Linked DNA regions of Homo sapiens: region 2 is linked to region 1. The links are contacts of gene promoters, found by promoter capture Hi-C in human tissues and cell types (Jung and others, 2019). All regions are on one chromosome and are shown on one strand. The core of a region is centred on a gene start or on the middle of the fragment in contact, and the rest is flanking DNA. Distances in the headings are between cores, read along the strand shown.

Region 1 (6,230 bases), core at 1,230-3,729:
GGCTGTGCACTCCTTATGACAATTTAACTAATGCCTGATGATCAGAGGTGGAACAGTCTCATTCCAAAACCTTCCCCTGTATCCTGTGCCATGCATCTGTGGAAAAACTGTCTTCCATGAAACTGGTCCCTGATGCCAAAAATGTTGGTGTATTAGTTCGTTTTTACACTGATGATAAAGACATAACCGATAATGGGTAATTTATAAAGAAAAAGAGGTTTAATGGACTCACGGTTCTGCGTGGCTGGGGAGACCTCACAATCATGGCGGGAGGCGAAACGCACTTCTCACCTGGAGGCGGTGAGAGAGAGTGGGAACCAAGCAAAAGGGGTTTCCCCTTATAAAACCGCCAGATCTCGCGAGACTGATTCACTACCATGAGAAGGGCATGGGGGAAACCACCCCCACGATTCAGTTATCTCCCACTAGTTCCCTCCCACAACATGTGGGAATTATGGGAGGGAAAATTCAAGATGAGATTTCTATGGGGACCCAGAAGCCATATCATTTGGGGACCACTGGCTTATAATGCCAGTCTGGTCAACATCAAATGTTGGATATAATTTCATATTTTAAAATTCACTACAGATAAATTAGAGTCTATATATATATATATATATACACACACATAAAATTAAGAACAATATCATTTTTTCTTTCAACTATAATATGTCATATTAAGAAACTGCAGTTTTCCCTTTGTGAATAATATTTAAACATCAACATTTTTCTATGGATACCTTCCTTGAACTACATTTTCACAACTGCAAATTGAAAACTTACCTTAAATAATATCAGTTTGCTAATATGTTCAAAATAAATTTGCTTGTTTTATTCAATTTTCTAAAGTTAGGCAATGACTAGTTGACAGGGAATTTCAAATTCTTTCATATGGAAAGACTTGACTTTCAAAAGCCTATGTATTAGGTTGGTGCAAAAGTTATTGTGTTTTCTGCCATTACTTTCAGTGGCAAAAACTGCCATTACTTTTGCATCATCCTAGTAGTTATCTTTGTTCATGTTGAATTGTTGATACTTTCTAGAAGAGAAGCTCTTTTTTAGAGTTAAAAGTCTTATATAAGTTCATCTACTCTCAGCCTGAACCTTTATTATTTTTCATCATATATTATGCAAAATAATTATGTCTTATAAGCACATGAAGTTTATTTTGAGAATCTGATGTTTGGCCCTACTCATTATGGACTTTTGGCTACTTGATGTTAATCTTAAAAGCTGTAGTCAGAAGTCAAAGTTTGAAAGAAAGATAGCTTAGGCAAGTGCATGGAATAGACTAGGCTTAAACTAATGAAATGGACATCCTCCATGAGAAAGCTGAGCCCTCCAGGCTTAGCTGCAAAGTAGAAGGAGAAAAACTGGGATGTGCTCCATTGGTGCCGGTGAGGGGAGGAGGGGAGTCATCAGGGTTTCAGACATTAGAATATTAACTGTAAAGGTTTCTTTCCACACATTTATCTGTTCCATGCACATTTGTGTGCTTATTAGCTGCTTGGCTCTTGGGACATTTGGTGAATAAGAACCGTCCAGAACATGCCTTCAAGAGTTTATAGTCTATTGGAGGAGTCAAACAAACAAACGGATAATAACAGCATACATTAAATAATGGTAAATTAAGAATGCTGCTACGACAAGAGGATAAAGGAGAATATCTGACAGACTCACCTGAGAAAAATTTTTCTCTGCTCAGGTGACTTTAGTCAGAAGCAGAAGTGTTAAAACTATAAAGAACTAGGGGGAGAGACAGCTGTCCTTAACGAGGGGGCAAGAATGGGAATTAAAGAGCCAGTACTGGCAGGTGGACCAATAGACTAGGTGGCTGGAATTCAGGGAGGCAGAGGACGGAGATGATGTTAGAGAGAGACCATGAGACTGGAATGTGCATATTAAATCCTAAAAAAAGAAACACTTTTTTTTTGAAACAAAAGTATTTATACAGCTCTGTTTCCAAATCTGTAAACATCTTTAAGTCTCAATAGTTTATGTGTCATAATAAAACAAGAGTCTTTAAAACGCTTCAAAAGTCAAGTTTTACACTGAGACATTTAAATGAAGAAAACGAGCCCTTTCCCCAAATCTACAACCTACAAGTTAAATGCACTGACCTGTCAGAATCTATGTAAAGAACAATTTTCTAATAAAAGACTGCTTTATCATAAGAAGCATCGTTCCAGGAAATTTCCTTTAATATTCTTATCTGTCACTTTCTATAAAAGTCTTTTTTAAATTAAAAAATCTGATGCTGAAAGCAGCAGAGATCTGAAGTGAGTATATTTAAATACATGTGGGTGATACACACAAGCATGTTCCTCCCAGATCTGCAGGAAGATGAAGCAATGTACGCAATGAATTAAAATGATTGTCACCTAGTGGATTCCGGACACAGGGCAGGCTTTAAGACCCAGCGATAGTATTTGTCTGGAGAGGAAATGTTGCTTTTTGACAGATGAGAGAAATCCCCTTAGTGTTGGCTGTGGGAAGAGAGAAGCGAAGTCAGTCACCTGGTGGTGAAGGCCAGTAAAACAGCGAAGCAGGAGGAAAATTTTTCTCTCCCTCTCTCTTTCTCTCCCTCTTTTTCTCTCCGTTGGATCCACCTCCTATTCCCTCAACTCTTTTAGCATAACCTTCAAAGGAGAACGTTCCCTTCTGACTTGATTATCTTCTTTTCCCCACTGAGAAAATACCTCTCAGCTACAAGACATTTTTTAAGTCTATGCAGGACTTCGGGGATTCTGTTATCTTGCCGGGGAAACTGATCATTGCTAATGCCTGGGACTGGAGCTAAATTACCTACCAGAGTAAGCCTGACGGAGGAAGCCTTTTATCATACACTCTTCTCTTCAGTTTGAACACATTTGCTTGAAATTTGCCGCATGATGCTGACCAGGGAAGCAGCTTTTTTTCTCGGGATGCAGCAATTCGCTGGGTTCTAAGCTTATTGCAGAAGAAGAAATAATCTTAAATAGAGTGGATTTTTTTTTCCTTTTTTCTTTTGGCCCCTGTTTCAATCGACTCAGCTGTGTTGCACCGCGGTAGAGATCACCTGTCACTAAATCTTTGAGGAAGTAAAATAAAGTGAATTATCATTATTATTTATTTATTTTCCTTATTTTTAACCCGGTGGAGGCGGCGTGACCACGGAGAATGAGACTGAGAGGAGCTGCCGGGGCTTGGAGGAGGATAAAGCTGAGTTTAAGCTGGAAACTAAAAGACTAGATTGTTTTTGGGTGCCACTCGCCCGGTTCCTCTCCACTTCGTTTAGTTGCGCTCCATGGACAGATCAACGAACCTGGACATTGAGGAGCTCAAGGTACGTGCGGGTCCGGGCGGGCTTCGCGGCCGCTTCTCGGCGCTCCCTGCTCTCCCCTCTCCTTCCCGCGGCTCCTCCAGCGGCGCGGAGTAGTTGGTGGTCCCGCGGGACGACGAGGGGGCGTTGGGGGGACGCGCACCCGGGCGCAGGCGCCCCTGCTGGGGCCGAGGACACGGAGGGTGGTTCTCCCGAGCCAGGCTGCACTCCCGGGCTGGGCGCCCTCCCCGCCTGCTCCTCCCGCCAGCGGCCACCCCGTCCTCCTCCTGGTCCGTGACGGCAGCATTTGGGGTGCAGACCCTGCGCCTCTTGCCGGCTCGTCTCCCCGGGGGGGGCAGCGGCACCAGCTCTGCCCGCTGTCGCCTGCTTTCCCAGCAAAGTTGTCCGAGCTGCGCCGCCACTTTGCCTCCTCTTCCCGGCTCCGATCCCGCCTGTGCCCCAGCCCGGCACGGGGACAGTGCATTTCCGCTCGGAGATTCGCGTGACAGAGGCATCTGCAACGACAGCCCGTTTTTATCCCAGAACTTCGTGAGACCCCTTTTCCCTCCCACCGCCCGCGGGCAGTGTTTCCTCCCGCAGTTGCAGTGCAGGGGCTGGAGAGGTACCCCCGCTGCCGGGGACGGCTAGCCTGCCCTAGCCCCAGGCGCGGGAGCAGGTCCGGGGACTCGGGCAGGGGGCGGGGAGGCGGGAGCCGGGCTGGTAGGGGCGGCATCTGCGGAGGCTCCGGCCGCACACGGTCTCCCACCAGCCTGGAGCCCCCCGCCGCTCCGCGGGTTCCCCGCGCCGCGCCCTCTCCCTCTGGGGTCCCCTGCTTGGCCGTGAGGGCCTGCCCGGAGGGAGCATCCGGGGTGACAACGCGCCCCTCTGCCTATGGGCACCTCTGCCTGCTTCCCTTCAAGAAAAAAAAATATATATATTTATATACACACAATAAATAAAAACTTTAAAAAACCAACAAACCACAAAATACTTTAAATGTCCCGCTCACCGTAAACGAAAAAGCGGGAAAGGGGGCGACACTGGAAGCACCTCTTTTATTGAAATCCTCCACCCTTCTTTACCCCTAGGCATTTGGTACGTTCTACTATTTCAGAGGTTCAGATGGATTCTGGCTTCTTTGATCAGTGAGAATGTTTAGGCACCCCCCCACCCGCTGGAGAAACGACGAATAGAGGTTTGCCCTGAAATGTCAAGGAAATGGGTTTATCCGACAAGCTAGGCAGGCTGCAAAATCCCCTGCAGAGCTCCAAAGCCTCTGTCTGCAGCCTGTCCTGTGCCCTGGCCAGGGGGCACGCAGGAGCCCAGTTCTCCAGGCGCCCCAGATTGCATAGACGGGGAAGGAAGGAGGGACAGAGAACAGTGGCGCCTGCCAGAATCGCCCTGCCACTGACTGTAGATGCAGTCCAGGACGGAGGGAGGACAGTGAGAAGACCTAGAACACCACTTCCACCGAAGACTGAGTTCCCTGGGCAAAGGGAAGTAGGGAGGAGGCAGATTTGATGCTTCGTTTAAAGTTGGCCAACAAGTTTCTGTGTTTTTGCCAAGATCATAGTCAGTAGACCTTGGCCTGGGCTAGAAGTTTCCTCTTATCTCTCTGCTCTACTCCGATAGGACACATTGCCTTTATGTTTGCAAAGATTCCCTACTTCTCTTTCCCAAGCATCCCAGTCTCTTGGGAGAAGGGGTAGGTTTTATCTGAGATGCGAAGAAGAATGTATGATAATGATTGTGATCTGTGTTTTATGCAGAGGTGGAGTATCCAGATTATTTTTTGGTTAACTTTAGGGTATGACACAGAAGAGAGCGTTCTGTTAAGAGAAATGGAAGGGAGAAATGATTTGGGGTGATTCTTTCCCCTGAAATCCCTTTAGTTTCCTAGCTTATCCCACTCTGAACCCCAGTGCCAATACATTGTTGTTTAAATCAGCAAAAGAGCAAACCCACTGGGGAAACTTATGTCTAGAATTAGTAGAAGATCTCAGCTTAATGTCACTACTCCTGCACAGATAATCCAGAGATCCTCATAGCCAGAGTGTACTGGACTTAGTGCTCTGGCAGCAGAGGGTAGGGAACTGGAAAGGTTTGGGCATGAGGGGGTATATTGGCAATGACTGACTGGGAAGAAATGAAGGCATGTTAGATACAAGGATCTATTGAGGTTGTTGAGAAATTATGTCAAGGACAAGCTACTTTTGAGGGTCAAAACTGGCAAGTGAGGAGATGTAGTCAAGCCTTATTAGAAAATGTTTGAGATCCTCCAGTTTTGGGAATAAATTTATGTTGGCAGTTTTGACTACACTTGTGGAATACGAAGGCTGTGGAATCCTTCTGAAATATATACAGTTTGTAGAGATGGATGCAGTGCGCGTGGAATAACTTGTCTAGATTTCTTGTTTTTAGCGGAGTTGGTTGGCTTGGTTTCCTAGACATTCCAGTTCAAGTTAGTCTCTGGTGGCTTCTTGCTGAAGAGCCTCCCGGTGTGATCAGTGGAGAGAGGGAAGAAAAAAGCTAGGATACTTGTTTTTGGCATTATTTGCATGTTTTGACTTTTCTTATCATCTAATAATGCTTACATTAAAACACATCCACACAGAACTTTGGTTTTTATGATGCTTTAAATATACAAAAAATGTTTACTGGGGTTTGATACATAAATAAATGTGCATAAAAGTATAAAAATATAGTTTAGCTTAGTTTTAGATGATCAGTGTCATTGTTAGGTGAAGCTGCTTACCTCAGGTTTTAAGAAAGAAAGATTCTGATAATTTATCTTTATTTGGGATAAACTATTTTCTCTTTGAGATTTTAACAACAATTTTTTTATTTTTTGCTGTGCTGGGTGTGCAAACATTGGTTTTTTAAAATGTGCTGTGCAGTGTCAATAGTGTTTTCTTTTGCAAGCTTTTAA
Region 2 (6,230 bases), core at 1,391-3,890, 91 kb before region 1:
AAGCAGAAAGACCCCAAATTTTGGCCAGTTCACCAACTGGATTCTTGTTGGTGACTACAATGAGATGTGTGCACAGACCCCAATGGAAAATTTTATATCAGTGATTCCATAATGCTTTAAATTTGATTTACTCCAGGACCTTAAGGTGTCAGTAAAACAAGTTACCTAATTTTTTCCATTCCTTCCCAAGCTGGCAGTTTCCAATCCAGTATTCAACTGGATTGGATTTTGCATTTGCCTATTAAGCTATATAAAAGTCATCCATCTAATTCTAATAAGCAATTGGTCTGATATAAACCTAAATTATTATTTTTTTGCACATCATGTTTTAGGGCCACGTATTCTTATGGACTTTAACATGATGCATGATTGAAATTTGGATCCCTCTCGTGGTTACAACTTCTAAAGTTTTTTGTTGAAGACTAACTTGAACAGTTAAATGTAGTAACTGCGTACATGCTAATGTACTTGTTGAGTACATTAAATAAAGTGAAATATTTAGAATAAGAGAGCTCTTGCACAATTGTACACTGATTAGCAATACTTCATATGTTGTGTCAACTTTAGGAAGGATTTCAACAAATTAAAGCTTGTAGAGGAGGCTTTGAATGAGAGAAACCTGAAAACACTTACACTGAAAAAAAAGAGATTTGAAGCCGAAATGGGAACTGTCTTCAAATATGAGAAATATCAGAAAAGCAGAAGAAACTGTCTGCCATGCCTCAAGGACAGAACTATGGCCCATGAGTGAAGTGTGGCTGATAAATCGTCTCAACATGTAAGATAGTTGAAAATCTGAAAATAAAATAGGCTGCTTCCCAAGAGAGTGAATTGAAGAAACTTAAGTATAAGCCCAGGAATTGGATTAGGGGGTGTCACACATTTATTCAAATTGAACATCTATGCTTCTATGAAGTTTAAGACATGTAGATTATCTGGTACATATACTATTAATGAAAGAACTTTGAGACCAATGGATGTTGGCATTTTCTTTATCCACATCCACATTAATAAGTTCATAAGGTTATCATAGTGTAGTCATGCTACTGTAACTTATTACAGCTGTCTAACATTGATGATTAAAATGAAAAGTCAAGGCCTAAGTTCCCAGATGTAGAGAGGAATGAGGACAGTGATGCATGTATTGTTTAGAAGGATGACACCGTCAGAAAAGGCAGCTGTAATTAGGTAAGTTGGTTATTTTTGTAAAGATGAGTGAGTTGACTGATAACTACAATATAGAGAATTTTACCCATGGACAGAATAAGCCCACACAGTCATGGTGAAAAGCCTAATCAAATTCAACTAATCATGGTGAATTCACATGGGAATATGGGTCAGACGGGAAATTCAAATAAGTGTGAAGTTATAAAATTTAGAAGAAAAAAGATGTTAAACAAATATAATTCTAGGCATACCTTACAATGCACAAATATAACACAAAAACCTGGCAATTGTAAAATAGAGGGCAAAATACTACAGTGAATAAATCACAGTTAAGAAAACTAGCATGAGAGTTGGATACAATAAAATAGTAATGTTGAATTTAAATGTAATGTGGTGACCTTTCTTATTATGTCTTGAATTTTACAATGAATATAGACCATGAAAAGCTTGCTGTGGTTTGGATTTCATCCACATACAGTTTAGATTAACTTCTTATCTTCCCACTCTAATTTTGTCAGCGGCTACATTTTATAGCTTTGCGGTTGAGCTCCAAAAAGGTGATTAAAATTCAACTAATAAAAAAAAGAAGAAGGAAATTGGGGTGATTTGGTCTGGAGAAGAGAAGGCTGGGGAATGATGTCATTCCTCTTAAGCAGATAATGGTAACTAGGCTATTTCTATTTCCTCACATTATAGAATAATAAGTGGAAGTCTATAAATTTTCTCTATAATTTTTTTTTTAAAAACTGAGTTACATGCCTAATGCATTTTCAGATGTTGGGCGGTGTGAAGTTTATTAAAAGTCAAGGACTTATTAAATAGTCTCTCAATATATCTTCTATTTTTGTAATACAGTTAGTTATCTTTTCACACACCTTCTTTCATATAGTATTGTATCTGTTTCATTTTTCAAGATGTGTTATTTTTGGTGAAGTTAGTTTCTTACGTTACCTTAAAATTAAAGTGACCAACATTGAGTTTAAATTCTATTATTTTGCAAATATTAATATATTCCTTTCAGACTTCAGAATTATTCCTCTTGTTAAATTTTATGAACAGCTAAAGGTTATTTCAAGTTATATCAAGTCAGTAGGTTCAGAGAACAAGTTCTGGAAATTAAATGTTATGAAGCTTGCCACTTATGATAACGCAGGTTTGTTGTTCTCTTTATGTATGATTTAAAGAAAAATGACCTGAATAAAAAACAGCTATCTATGTCTATACCTGTGTCTATATTTATATGGCTTCAAACATTTTATATGAATATGTATTTTTATATATGTGTGTGAATATGTACATATTCATATACTTAAAGGTAAGAAGGAAGCAGAATAATACAAAATGGATCTTTCCAATCATTTGTTCATGAAAAGTGTAAGTATTTGCAATCTCTTCATACTCCTTTAAAGTCAAAAATCAATGACAAGGAGGTAGTAGAGTTCGGAACAGATACAAATCCATTTTGAGTAATAGATATACAAAAGATGATTGAGTATTGCCTACTGAGTTAATGAGACCATTGAAGATAAGGGAGAGATATGTGGAAACACAGTCCATTTCTTTAACATCTGCTTGTTTTCTTATTTCAAGGAAAATAAATATCTTGTATGTATAAGGAAGATGATAGCATTTAGATAATGTCAATGATAATCTTTTGTGATGCTGGAATGGCAGGTAGATATCTTTAATAAAGATCTATGTGGACTGTGTAGAGGCTTAAGGTTGAAAATAACATAAATGACAGAGGAAAGCTCTTTCTAGGAGATTGCAGCTGAGGGAATCATTTTGTGTAAGTTACTGTCTTAAACTTAAGTGAGCTTAGATAAAGAAGGAAAAAAAGTTTATACTGCTATATACAAGTTCAATATACATTACAATGTTCAAGTTGAAGTTTACGAACATCTGATATTAGATTTAAAATAATCTTTTCAGTAAGTTCACTTAAATAAAATAGTTTTATAAGACAGAACATTAGCAATCTTAAGTTTTAAGCTTTGTTAATTTAATCTGTTAAATTCACAATTAAAAAACATTCAAAGAGCAGATATTTGTTTTTCTTAATATTAGCCAGAAGTCAGATTCTTTACAAAGTCAACACTAATACTAAAAGTAGGTATTTGACAAGTAAAAATCCAATGTAAATAGGAAATATTCACTTTTTAAAGTAAATTAATTATTCCCATATAAGTGAGCTTCCAGCTATAATTATTCAGATTTTACAACACTTAATTCTCATCTGTTAATGCTTTGATTTATTCTTATTTCCTCCCATAATTTATATTCTCATACTGAATGATTCTATTTACTAAAGTTCAAAGACAAGCAGAACTAATCAATGGTGTTAGAAGTCAAGATAGTGATTATCTTTGGAGAGGAAGGGCAGCTACGTTTGGGAAGAGGCTGTAGATACAGCTTCTTAGACTTTGCAACTTTCTTGTATAATTCTTGTTTAATTGGACCATATACAATTCTTGAGATAGGTGGAGGTTGCAATAATAGATTCATTTTGTATAATTAACTGAGCAATATAATCAAGACTCAACAAATATTATTTGAGAACCTACCACATACCACACATTAAAATAGGCTTTTGTTATAAAATACCACACACAATAGACACTGTCCCTGTCATCAAGGAGTATACAATCTAGTGGTGAACACAGGCAACTAAACAAGTAATTACAATGCAGTGGGATCCATGTGAATGATAAATAATACATGGTATGGATTTTAGCAAAAAAACTTCCTGTATAATGTGTCATTTAAGTTAAAACTTGAAAGACTGGCAGAGTTTTTTTTCTGGAAAAGAAGGTTGAAAACATGTTCCTGTAGAGGAAATAATGTATGCAAGAGCCAAGAAATGAGAGACTGAATTGGTCTTTTATCTAACTGGAATTGGTACAGACTTGCTCAAAATTCAAGTACTCAAGGCAGAAATATTCATTTTTTTTCTATTCTTTGCAACTATGTTTGCAATTTCTTCTTAATATAGTTTGTATATTGGAAATACACAAGCATTTCCTCTTCAGCTGCTGTATTGGATAAGTTGCAGGCTAAGCTAGTTGCTCCAAAAGGATTCCAAAACACAGCGACTCAAAGAGCTAAAATGTCTCTATCTGATATGCAATAGTCTGGAGTTTGCTGGTGGTTTAGGGAAAGAAAGTAGCTTTCAACCCAGAAAAGTTATTTCAAGATCATTTATTTCAGCTTCTCGTTCCCAGGGAATTGTCCTCATTTGACTGTTTAACACTGACAGCTCCTTGTCTGTCTTCTACTCCATGGGAAGAGGGAGAGAGATTAAGATTACAGCATTTTTTGGAGGGGAAATGATGCAAAAGTTTTATGCGTAATTTCTACTCATCTTCTATTGGTAATAACATGGTTATATGGCTGCACTTAGCTGTAGGGAAGGTTGGAATGTACAGTGTCTAGCAGAGTGGACTTGTGGCCAGCCACCCTCTATTATTCTAGAAGAGGGGCAGAAGGACTCAGGGAAAAACTAGCAGCCTATCAAAACTGCCCACTTCTAAAGCCCCTTTGTGGCAGTGTGAAAATGTCATAAAATAAATGCAGATCAGTAGGTGGCAGATCACGAGAGGCCTTTTATATCAAAATTAAGTATTCATATTTTATTTTGAAGACAGTTTGGAACTGTGTAGGAGTTGTAATCAAAGGAGTGTCACGGTCACATTTTCATTTTAGGAAAGTACTCTCTGGATGTAGGTTTGGGAAAATACCAGAGGGACGGAGGCTGCTTTTGATGGATTGGCTAAAATCTGCTTGAGATATTATGGTGAAGAGAACTAAAGGAATGAGTAGAGCATAGAGGAGATCAGATGCAGAGAAATACATGAGCTTAAGTGGTTAAACGCACAGTCATCACTTAGATGTGAGGAAGGAAAGTTTACGAGTAGACAATGATGACACCAAGGATCAAGGCTGGGTGGAGTTGTGGCCTTCTCTGAGTACAGGGAAGGAGTATTCAGTCAGACAAGTAAGTACAGATGAATTTAATGTTGGACCTATAAAGCTTTAATCACTGTTCTAATTAAGTAAAACTGTGCAGGACCAAATTGAGCTTAAAAGCACCTGTTCAAAGCTGTTCTTGACAAATTAATGGGCCTAGAATGGGACGCTGAGGAAAGCCAACATTTAAAGGTAGTCAGAGAAAATGGGAGCAGTGATCACTGACAGATTTTTAACTAAATAATAATCTATCAAGTTCATCTAAATACAATTAACCAAATATAACTTCATGGAAGAGGAAGGCAACATATATACGGATGACTTCTATACTGATGATTTCTCAATCTGTTCACTAAAAATACTGCGCATTGTCTACCTGTAGTTTACAATAATTTCATTTTGTTGAAGATACCTGAAAAATCAGCTTTTCAGTGAGTTGCTGAAAAAGGATATTGCTACTCCATAATTCAAGATTAGGTAAATTGGGAGAGGAGAAAACTAGAAATTTGTAGTTTATTTGTTTAAATGGTGAGAAGTCTCATAAAATATGGTGTAATCAACAGCGGTAAATGCTCAGAGTTCAAGAAAGCTGAAAGCTGAAAAAACGACCAGAAGATTTGGTAAGAAGGCCACCACTGATCCATGAGATCAGTTTGATTGGGATGGTAGGGGCAGAGGTTGGATTAAAGGGTATTAAAGATAGATCAGAGGTGAAAAAATGTAGATTCACAGTGTAACCTCTCTTTTCCAAAGTATGGTTGTAGAAAGAATAATAAGGCTAGCAACTATAAGGAATCGGGATTTCCGGAAAAGCATTTATTTATTTATTTTTAAAAGGAGAAACTTGAGAATGTCTGAATGGAATAAAGAAGGATTCCTTTGGGAAGAAGGTGAAATATACAGCCCAGAGTGGTCCTTGAGAAGGTGGAGATAGGAGACTCCCACAGAAGAGATGCGCTGTACTGAAGGAAGATCCATTTTTCTTTTTAACAGCAGAGAAATAAAAAAGAATGATTTCAGGGTTTTAAAAATTATTATTTCAGATTATTGTTATTGCTTTTGCATTATTTCCAGGAAGAGAGATAGAAAATGTCAGC

Evidence for each region. Contacts are between HindIII fragments. The study calls those that stand out against the background at their distance.
Region 2: a contact is called between a fragment that was not itself captured here and the fragment with the promoter of SGCZ in region 1, in 4 of the 25 tissues and cell types used here (H1 embryonic stem cells, dorsolateral prefrontal cortex, hippocampus and 1 more).

Annotation. Positions count from the first base shown.
Region 1 is chr8:15,234,680-15,240,909 of GRCh38, reverse strand. SGCZ (sarcoglycan zeta) reads left to right here and starts at 2,479. Exons shown (of 8, transcript NM_139167.4): 1 at 2,479-3,325. The coding sequence starts at 3,287. The HindIII fragment of the contact is 17,338 bases long and covers 1-4,586 here.
Region 2 is chr8:15,325,742-15,331,971 of GRCh38, reverse strand. No RefSeq gene overlaps it. Among named protein-coding and RNA genes, the nearest start is that of SGCZ, 90 kb to the right of the region's middle. The HindIII fragment of the contact is 3,077 bases long and covers 1,102-4,178 here.